Regions from separate parts of the Homo sapiens genome. Here region 2 is linked to region 1. The links are contacts of gene promoters, found by promoter capture Hi-C in human tissues and cell types (Jung and others, 2019). All regions are on one chromosome and are shown on one strand. Each heading gives the region's core, a stretch centred on a gene start or on the middle of the fragment in contact. The rest is flanking DNA. Distances are from core to core; before and after follow the strand shown.

Region 1 (4,273 bases), core at 857-3,356:
AGCTGCCTAGGATAAAAAGCCTCCATTGACACAAAAACTCATTCACAACAACACTTCCTGTAAGTCAGTCTGATAAAGACAGACCTGATTAAGTACTATAAACATTCTCAAAGACATGTTGGGAGAGTAGAGAGACATGTCCCTCTGGAAGTCAGGGGTGCCACAGGCAGATAGCTAGACGGGGGGGCCTTGGAAGATTGGGATATCCTATGGGAAACTCTCAGCCTAGTGCTGGGAACTTAGTAGGAGGTTAATACATATTTCTTTCTATCTTCCTAAGAGCAGATGCGAAGCACAGCAAGGAGGAAATGCAGCCAGAACAGTATAATGCAATGCAACGCACACAGGCACAGCAGGCCAAGAGAGAAGGAAGGAGGTAATGGTAGCCTAGAGAGCAGAAGCAGCAACAGAGGAGGCCTAGAGAAGCTAGGGTGACAGAGGCAGGCATCATCGTAATCGTGACGGCGCAACTGCAGAATGATTCTGACAGATCTTTGATAGTCATACAATCTATGTGGTAAGTAGATGCACAGAGTACATGAAGACAACATTAATCCAGCAGAAATTTGAAAGAAATTTACATCAACACTGGGGAGGAGACATGATTTATCCCTTTAGTGAAGGAGTGCTGGTTAAAACTGTAACAGATTTTTTATTACATATAAAAAATATAGAGAATACGTAATATATGCAGAATAACTAATATTCATTTGAAATACAGAATTTCTATAGTTAGCTGAAATAAGTTAACTGTTTAATAAAGTTTATTTTTGGCTTACCAGTGGTGTGGCTTTAGTTACTTTGGAATAATTTATTTCTAAAACCTCAATTAAAAAAATCAGTTCCTAACTGAAGTAAAATTATCAGAAACATCATGTCACTACCGTAATAACCTGTCAGAGAATGTTACACAAGGGGTGCAGCACAGCGGAATGGAAGGTTACAGATGCAATTATTATTTTTTCTAGCCCTTTGCTTCGGGTCATAGCCAACCAGTCACTATACACAGGGTAGCTTCTGCAGTATTTATTTCTTTAAATATTTAACAGTGTTGAGAGGCAATGACTCGCAATAATATGTAGAGTTTCTAGCACATTATGAGTGCTTAATAAATGTTAGAACAATAAAATCCTGTATGATGAAAAACAGCAGTCAGTAAAACTATACAGTCTACGATATTTTAAAGCCATAGCAATAACTAGTTTAAAAAGAATAGAAAGCAAACAGTGCATTGATTAAATCACGGTCATAAAGGAACATTTACGTTCACTAAAAAGTCCACCCAGGTAATTTCCCCTTGTATGTATTAGGGGATGGAAAGAAGGCACAGGAAAAGTGGATAAAGTATGGATTAAAAAACAACTCTTCCCCCATCCCCCCGCCACCCCCCAAAAGCCAGGTGGAGCTCTATTGACCACAAGCCGGGGTAGCTACATCCAGTGCAACGGTGGGGTGCTCCAAGCGCCTTCGAAACGTCCTCTACGCCAGCACCAACTGGCAAAACCTTCTAATTTTCTAGACGCCTTTCTGCTTGGTTTTGGAAGGGGAGGCACCCAAGTGGGTGTGTGCGACACCTCTAGTTGTAAGCCGGGACACAGTGACGTCGAGAGAGCGCTATTCTACTCGGAGAGGAAGTTAATCCCATCGAACTCCAGCCAGGAAAACGTGGGCTTGGGAACCGCGGCCGCTCGTTTCCAGGATCTCCCGCGGGCCTTCGCGGCTGAAGAACCAGGCGGCGAGGGCTGAGGACCCCGCGCTCTAAGTTTGGGGAAGGAAGTGAGGAAAAAAAACAGAGCTGCTCCTTTAAGAACTTCCTTTCCCTTTTACTCTATGTTTACATAACACAGGGGCCGAGCCTCCGCCGGGCCGAGGGGGGCGGGGAGTGGGCGCGGACGGCCCCACGCGCCGGGGGAGGGGGCGCCCCGCGGGCCGGGGGCGGGCGCCTGGCTCTGCGTGGGGCGGGGCGGCTCCCACCTGCCCGCGCGCTGGCCCCCGCCTCCCCCGCGCGGCCCCAGCCTCTCGTGCGCCCGCTCCCTCCTCCTTCCCTCCCTCCCGCGGGGCTTCGGCGGCGGCGCTCAGCGCAGGCAGGTCCCCCTGCTGCCGGGTCCCATTTGTTGCCGGCTCTGACTCGGGGCGGCCGCGGCGCGCGGAGCTCCGGGGAGTCAGGCGGAGCAGCCGCGCAGCCACGACGGAGCAGCAGCGGGACTGGCCGCCCCGCGCCCCCTTCGCCGCCGTGCCCTTCCCCGGCGCGCTCACCCCGTTCTCGGGATGGGATTGTAGCGGCGGCGCGGACTCGGCGGGGATCGCGGCGGAGGCGGCGGCGTCGGCGGCGGCGTCGGCGGCCGAGCGGGGCTCCATGTTTTCCCCTGGCCAGGAGGAACACTGCGCCCCCAATAAGGAGCCAGTGAAATACGGGGAGCTGGTGGTGCTCGGGTGAGTCCTGGGGTCCCTGGTCCCGGGCAGCGGCGCGGGCGGGGAGCGCCCGCATCCTGGAGCGGGGCTGGCGGGGTGGCTCGGTGCTCTTTGGGGACCGCCGGGGCGCTCGGGGCGGCAGGAGAGGCTCTCAGGGCCCGGACGGCGGCGCGGGGGCGGGATGCGCCCCATCGGCGCGCGCTCGGGGTGCTGCGGCGGACGCCGGGCTGCGCTGTCCGCGCGGAGGACGCGGCGGAGGAAGTGGCCAGAACTCGGGCGACCCAGCGGGGGCAGCGCCGGGCACCGGGTCCGCGGCCGTATCGTGGGGGCGGGGGCAGGGGCTCCACTTCCCGCGCGCCGCGTCCGGGCCGGGGAGGGCGGGCAGGGACTCCATGTGAGGCGCCGCGGTCGCGGGCGCTTCGCGGGGTCGCTTCCCGAAGCTGAGAGGCCGGCCGGCGCGGAGCCCCGTCTTCCCACCTCCCTCGCGGACCGTGGTACCCGCGCCCCCGAACTCCGAGCGCGGCGCCGTGAGCTTGGGCCGCCGCGGGCTGTGGGATCCCCGGCTGCGCTTTGCAAATTGTTCCGATGACCGCCGCGGGCCGCCGCAGCCCGAGAGCAGTGAACTGTGTGTGACCCGGGCCGGCCGGCCCTCCGCTTCTCCCCGCTTGGAGTGCTCTGGAGGGGAGGGACAGGATGCGGCTGCTCGGGGCCTGGCACCGGGGCGCGGGCCGTATCCCCCCGGTCCCGGCCTCGCTGATGCCCTCCCGGCTGCGGGGAGCTCGCCAGCCTCGCCCGCCTCGGCTCCCTCTCTGCTGGTGAAAGCCGCATCTTGAAGATAGTAATTATGTACAATCGTTAAACGGCAGCAATTAGAGACTTCATCTACTTCCTGAGTTTCCTTGTGACATTTCTATTGTTTACCCTTAATAAGCCAGGAGAGAGGCTTTGCGGGCTTAAAACTGGATATAGTGGGCAGTGAAAGGGGAGGGGGAAGGGGGAAGTGCAGGAAACTGGGGGGAAGGAACAACTTGGGTTTAGTGTTGAAGAAAGGATTATTTTTTCCTTTGGATGTGTCGCTCTGGGAACCCGCGCTTTTGTCCTTCTGCGTTGAAAGACCTGTATTCAGAACATCCTCGGCGCTGATAGGTAGGCTTAGCACACATATGAGGAGTCATGGCTGTGGGAAGACTCAGGGAACTTTGCAAAACGTGTTTTGATAAGTGAGTGCCTTGAAGTAAGTGCTGACTTAAAAATAATTTAAAGAGAGGAGTTTTTGAGGGAAGCTTCCAGACACCGCACAACTCAAAGCTTCCCAGTCTTCCTGACTTTGTTGCTAGTGCATTAAGTGGGGGTGGTATTGGAAATCTCATTACCTATTTTGAAGCTGTTTGCAGATAAGTGTTTTTCTCACCTACATCTTAATTGCACTTCAAAGACAAATATCAGGGTTCACAGGAAGGCGGGAGGAATGACAGGAGAAAAGCCGCAGTTTAGTCTGTCTTATGTAACTTCAGCCCAACCTAATCTTGTGGAGTTTGGTTTTGTTTGTGTGGCTGGCTTCAGTGTGTTTAACACTGTGAACTTGACGCGGAAGATTAACGTATGCCAGAACTTTATTTCATTATTTCCTTTTGAGGAAATCATTGTTGAGATGTTTCAGAAAAGCAGCGAGTGGGCCTGGAGAGGTTTTGTGTTCATAGCTGGAAGTGCAGGGCATTCCGAAGCCACGGAAAGGATTGAAACCCTGGATTGTCCTAGTATCATAGTCTCACTCCACAGGAGCCCGGGATATAACGTTGCAGTTGCATATGGTCTGCCCTTTGCTAATGCTTTTCCAGGAGACCAAAGTATGACATAGTTG
Region 2 (4,622 bases), core at 954-3,453, 1.0 Mb before region 1:
TTAGTCAGCTCATACCCCAAGTCACTTCAATTTCCCTATCTTGCTTCTTGTTATTGTTTTTAAAAATAGGCTGGGCGCAGTGGCTCACGCCTGTAATCCTAGCACTTTGGGAGGCTGAGGTGGGCAGATTGCCTGAGCTCAGGAGTTCGAGATCAGCCTGGGCAACATGGTGAAACCCTGTCTCTACTAAAATACAAAAAATTAGTCAGGCATGGTGGCGTGTGCCTGTAGTCCCAGCAACTCGGGAGGCTGAGGCAGGAGAATTGCTTGAACCTGGGAGGCGGAGGTTGCAGTGAGCCAAGATCACACCACTGCATTCCAGCCTGGGTGACAGAGTGAGACCAAAAAAAGCAAAAAACAAAAAACAAAAAAACAAACCAGAAAAGTGGGATGTTTATACTTTATAAAAGGTACCCGGAGGAATTTCAGTTCAGCTGTTCAGTCTATGGCTGCTGTAGTAAACAGCTATACTTCCAAGGCCTTGCACAGAGCAATCCCCAAGGCAACATTTCCCAAGGTGTATTTTATACAACACCAATTTCTAGAGCTGCACCTTGAGTAAAGGGTTCCATGGATCAGTAAGTTTGAGGACACTGAATGTGAAATCCATTCATGAAGAAGTACCACCACATTAGTACATTAAGGGGCTAGCAAGTCCTATAGTAAAAAAAAACAAAAACAACAAAAAACCAGTATTTCCCAAGTACTTAATCACAGGAAATTTTTGTTTGAATAACTGCTTATTTCTATGGCAGGACTACCAGAGATTATTGCTCATTTTTATTTTAATTTTTTTTGAGACAAAGTCTCACTCTGTCGCCTAGGCTGGAGTGCAGTGGAGCAATCTCGGCTCACTGTAACCTCCGCCTCCCGGGCTTGGGTGATCCTCCCACCTCAGCTTCCCAAGTAGCTGGGACCGCAAGTGTGTGCCACCATGTCCAGCTAATTTTTGTATTTTTAGTAGAGATGGGTTTTTGTCATGTTGCCCAGGCTAGTCTCAAACTCTTGGGCTCAAGCAATCTTCCTGCCTCGGCCTCCCAAAGTGCTGGGATTACAGGTCCCACCCTGCTTATTTTTTATTTAACATTTATTCAGCATTGTGTACAAAGTAAGTGTGGTGTCATGCAGAAATGAATTACAGAGGGGAAGGGTTTAATATGCATTTGATATATAGTTTCAAAATATTCAATTATTTTATAGAAGAAATGGGATGAACTCATAAGATATCAAGTATAAATCAGTAATTGGCATCTAGAAAATGTGTGGGTTAAACATAGATGAAAAAAGCTGGGAGAACCAAGAGTACACGTGGTAATAAACATACATAAGGGGGACCTGGGCACTAAATAGTGATACATTAAATACCAATATTCACAAGTCTTTAATATGGTCACCCATTGGTGATATCTAGCCTGGCTTCATGTGTTCTCTGCCCAAGTAATGAAAATCCATGGCTGTTCAACAGACTAATGACAAGCTACAATTTTGGCCAATTGCTTCTCTCCAATAGAGCAAATATGTACCATTGACCCAGAACCTCCTCCTTCCCTTGCTTGAACCTCACCACTGGCCTGGAAGTTCCTCATAAGGTTAAACATAAAGTTACTGTATGACCAGCAATTCTACTCCTAGGGATATACACCCAAGAAAAATGAAAATATATGTCCACACAAACACCTGTGCACAAATGTTGATAGCAGCATTGTCCATAACAGCCAAAAAGTAGAAACAACCTAAATGTCCATCAACTGATGGATAAACAAAATGTGGTATTCCCATCAATGGAATATTATTCAGCCATAAATGGACATGAAATTCTGATACATGCTATAACTTGATGCACCTTGAAAACATTATGCTAAGTGAAAGAAACCAGTCACAAAAGGCTGCATATACTGTGATTCTATGTATATAAAATATTCAGAATAGTCAAATCTATAGAGGTGGGTTGGTGGCTGCCAGGGCTTGGGGAGAGAGATACAAAGAGATACCACTACACACTTACTAGAATGCATACAATTAAAAACAGGACTGGGCGTGGTAGTTCACGCCTGTAGTCTCAGCACTTTGGGAGGCCAAGGTGGGAGGATCACTTGAGCCCAAAATTTTGAGACCAGCCTGGGCAACATAGTGAGATCTTGTCTCCATGAAAAATAGAAAAACTTAGTCTGGTGTGGTGGCATGTGCCTGTAGTTCCAGCTACTTGGGAACCTGAGGTGGGAGGATCACTTGAGACTGGGAAGTTGAGGCTGCAGTAAGCCATGATCGTACCATTGCACTCCAGCCTGGGTGACAGAGTGAGACTCCTGTCTCAAAAAAAATAAAATAAAATAATAAAAATGAATAAATAAATAAATAAAATTAATTTAATTAAAAACGTTGACTGTACCAACTGTTGGTGAGGATGTAGACAATGGAATTCTCCTACACTACTGGTGGGAATGTAAAATGGCATGACCAATTGGAAAACAATTTGTCAGTTTCTTAAAAAGTTAAACATATACCTACCTAATGACCCACTCATTCTACTCCCAGGAGAAATATAAGTAGAGGTGGTCTTCGACTTACAATATGGTTACATCCCAATAAACCCATCATAAATTGAAAATATCGTAAGTTGAAAATGCATTTAATACACCTAACCTACCAAACACCATAGCTTAGTCTTGCCTACCTTAAATGTGCTTAGAACACTTACATTAGCCTACAATTGGGCAAAATCATCTAATACAAAGCCTATTTCATAATAAAATGTTGAATATCTCATGTAAATTATTGAATACTGTACTGAAAGTAAAAACCAGAATGAATGTATGGGTACTTGAAGGACAGTTTCTACTGAATGCATATTGCTTTCACAACATTGTAAAGTTGAAAAATCGTAAGTCGAATCAATGTTAAGTCAGAGATCATTTGTGTATATCCATACAAAGACTTATATATAAATGTTTATAGAAGTTTTATATCTAATATCTCCAAACTGGAAACAGTGCAAAATGTCCATTAATAGGTAAATGGGCAAACAAATTTTGATATAGCCAAAAATGGAATACTACTTAGTAACTGATACTCTAAACAACATGAATGAATCTCACAACATAGCTGAATAAAGAAAGCCAAAAGAAGGGTATATACTATATTATTTCAATTATATAAGTAAGATTCTAGGAAATGCAAGCTAATCTGTAGAGACAGGTAGTAGATAGTGTTACCTGAGGACAAAGAAGGGGATTATAAACAGGTATAAGAAAACTTTGGCCAGGCACGGTGGCTCACATCTGTAATCCCAGCACTTTGGGAGGTCGAGGTGGGTGGATCGCCTGAGGTCAGGAGTTCAAGACCAGCCTAACCAACATAGCGAAATGCCATCTCTACTAAAAATACAAAATTAGGGCCGGGTACAGTGGCTCACGCCTGTTATCCCAGCATTTTGGGAGACCGAGGCGGGCAGATCACGAGGTCAGGAGATTGAGACCATCCCGGCTAACACAGTGAAACCCTGTCTCTACTGAAAATACAAAAAATTAGCCAGGCATGGTGGCAGGTGCCTGTAGTCCCAGCTACTCGGGAGGCTGAGGCAGGAGAATGGCATGAACCTGGGAGGCAGAGCTTGCAGTGAGCCAAGATCAGGCCACTGCACTCCAGCCTGGGCAACAGAGCGAGACTCCGTCTCAAAAAAAAAAAAAAAAAAAATTAGCCGGGCATGGTGGCAGGCACCTGTAATCCCAGCTACTTGGGAGGCTGAGGCAGGAGAATCACTTGAATCCAGCAGGTGGAGGTTGCAGTGCATCAAGATCGTACCACTGCACTCCAACCTGGGTGACAGAGCGAGACCCCATCTCAAAAAAAAAAGAAAGCTTTTAGGGGTTATGGATATGTTCATTAACTTGATTATGGTGATAGTTTCATGGGTGTATACATGTCAAAACATGATATTCTATACTTTAAACGTGTTCAGTTTATACTGCATGTCAATTACTTCAATAAAATGGTCTTAAAAATCAGAGAATAGAATTTTCCAAAATAAACGGAGCATCTATTTAAAAAATAACAGCTAATATTTTTGAACATTTACTATATGCCAAGCCCTATGCTAGTTGAGAGTTATTACATGAAAGACATTCCTTTTCTCTTCCCAGTAACCTTAGGAGGAAGGTACTACTATTTTTATTAACTTCCCCAAGTAACTCACTCAAATCACATAAGCCAAATCATACAAGTAGATGCAAAAACAGAATTCAAATCCTGGACCATTTGACTTTACTACCTGAAGTCATAACCACTGTTAAGACCTGGTTCTGGGAGACCTAAAAGGAATTTGCACCTCCCTGCAACTTACAAGAGAGTAAATGAAGGTGAAAGAAAAGGAAAATTTAGTGAAGATGAACCTATCCTCTTGTTAGGTTCCAAGCTGGAACATTGACCCAATAGCATTGGCAATGCTCTTGACATGGGATCCTGTCAGGCCACTGGGGCAGTGGGAGGAAGGGAAGTCACTATCCAGACTGAAGGAGGACAAACTATGTGTGCTTGGTCCAGGTGAGCTCATCATTCAGGGCTCCAGCTTTTTCCATGGTAAAGACATTCAGAAGCAACTGAGCAAACATTTCAGCAATTCCAAG

The links. Contacts are between HindIII fragments. The study calls those that stand out against the background at their distance.
Region 2: a fragment that was not itself captured here is called in contact with the fragment with the promoter of PELI2 in region 1 in 1 of the 25 tissues and cell types used here (stomach).

What each region holds. Positions count from the first base shown.
Region 1 is chr14:56,116,305-56,120,577 of GRCh38, forward strand. It overlaps PELI2 (pellino E3 ubiquitin protein ligase family member 2), which reads left to right and starts at 2,107. Exons shown (of 6, transcript NM_021255.3): 1 at 2,107-2,433. The coding sequence starts at 2,357. RefSeq lists an enhancer at 1,495-1,734 and silencers at 1,865-1,924, 1,965-2,224, 2,515-2,584. The HindIII fragment of the contact is 5,780 bases long and covers 1-4,273 here.
Region 2 is chr14:55,080,126-55,084,747 of GRCh38, forward strand. LOC124903318 (a long non-coding RNA gene) reads right to left here. Exons shown (of 3, transcript XR_007064178.1): 3 at 4,607-4,622. Among named protein-coding and RNA genes, the nearest start is that of MAPK1IP1L, 31 kb to the left of the region's middle. The HindIII fragment of the contact is 6,384 bases long and covers 1-4,622 here.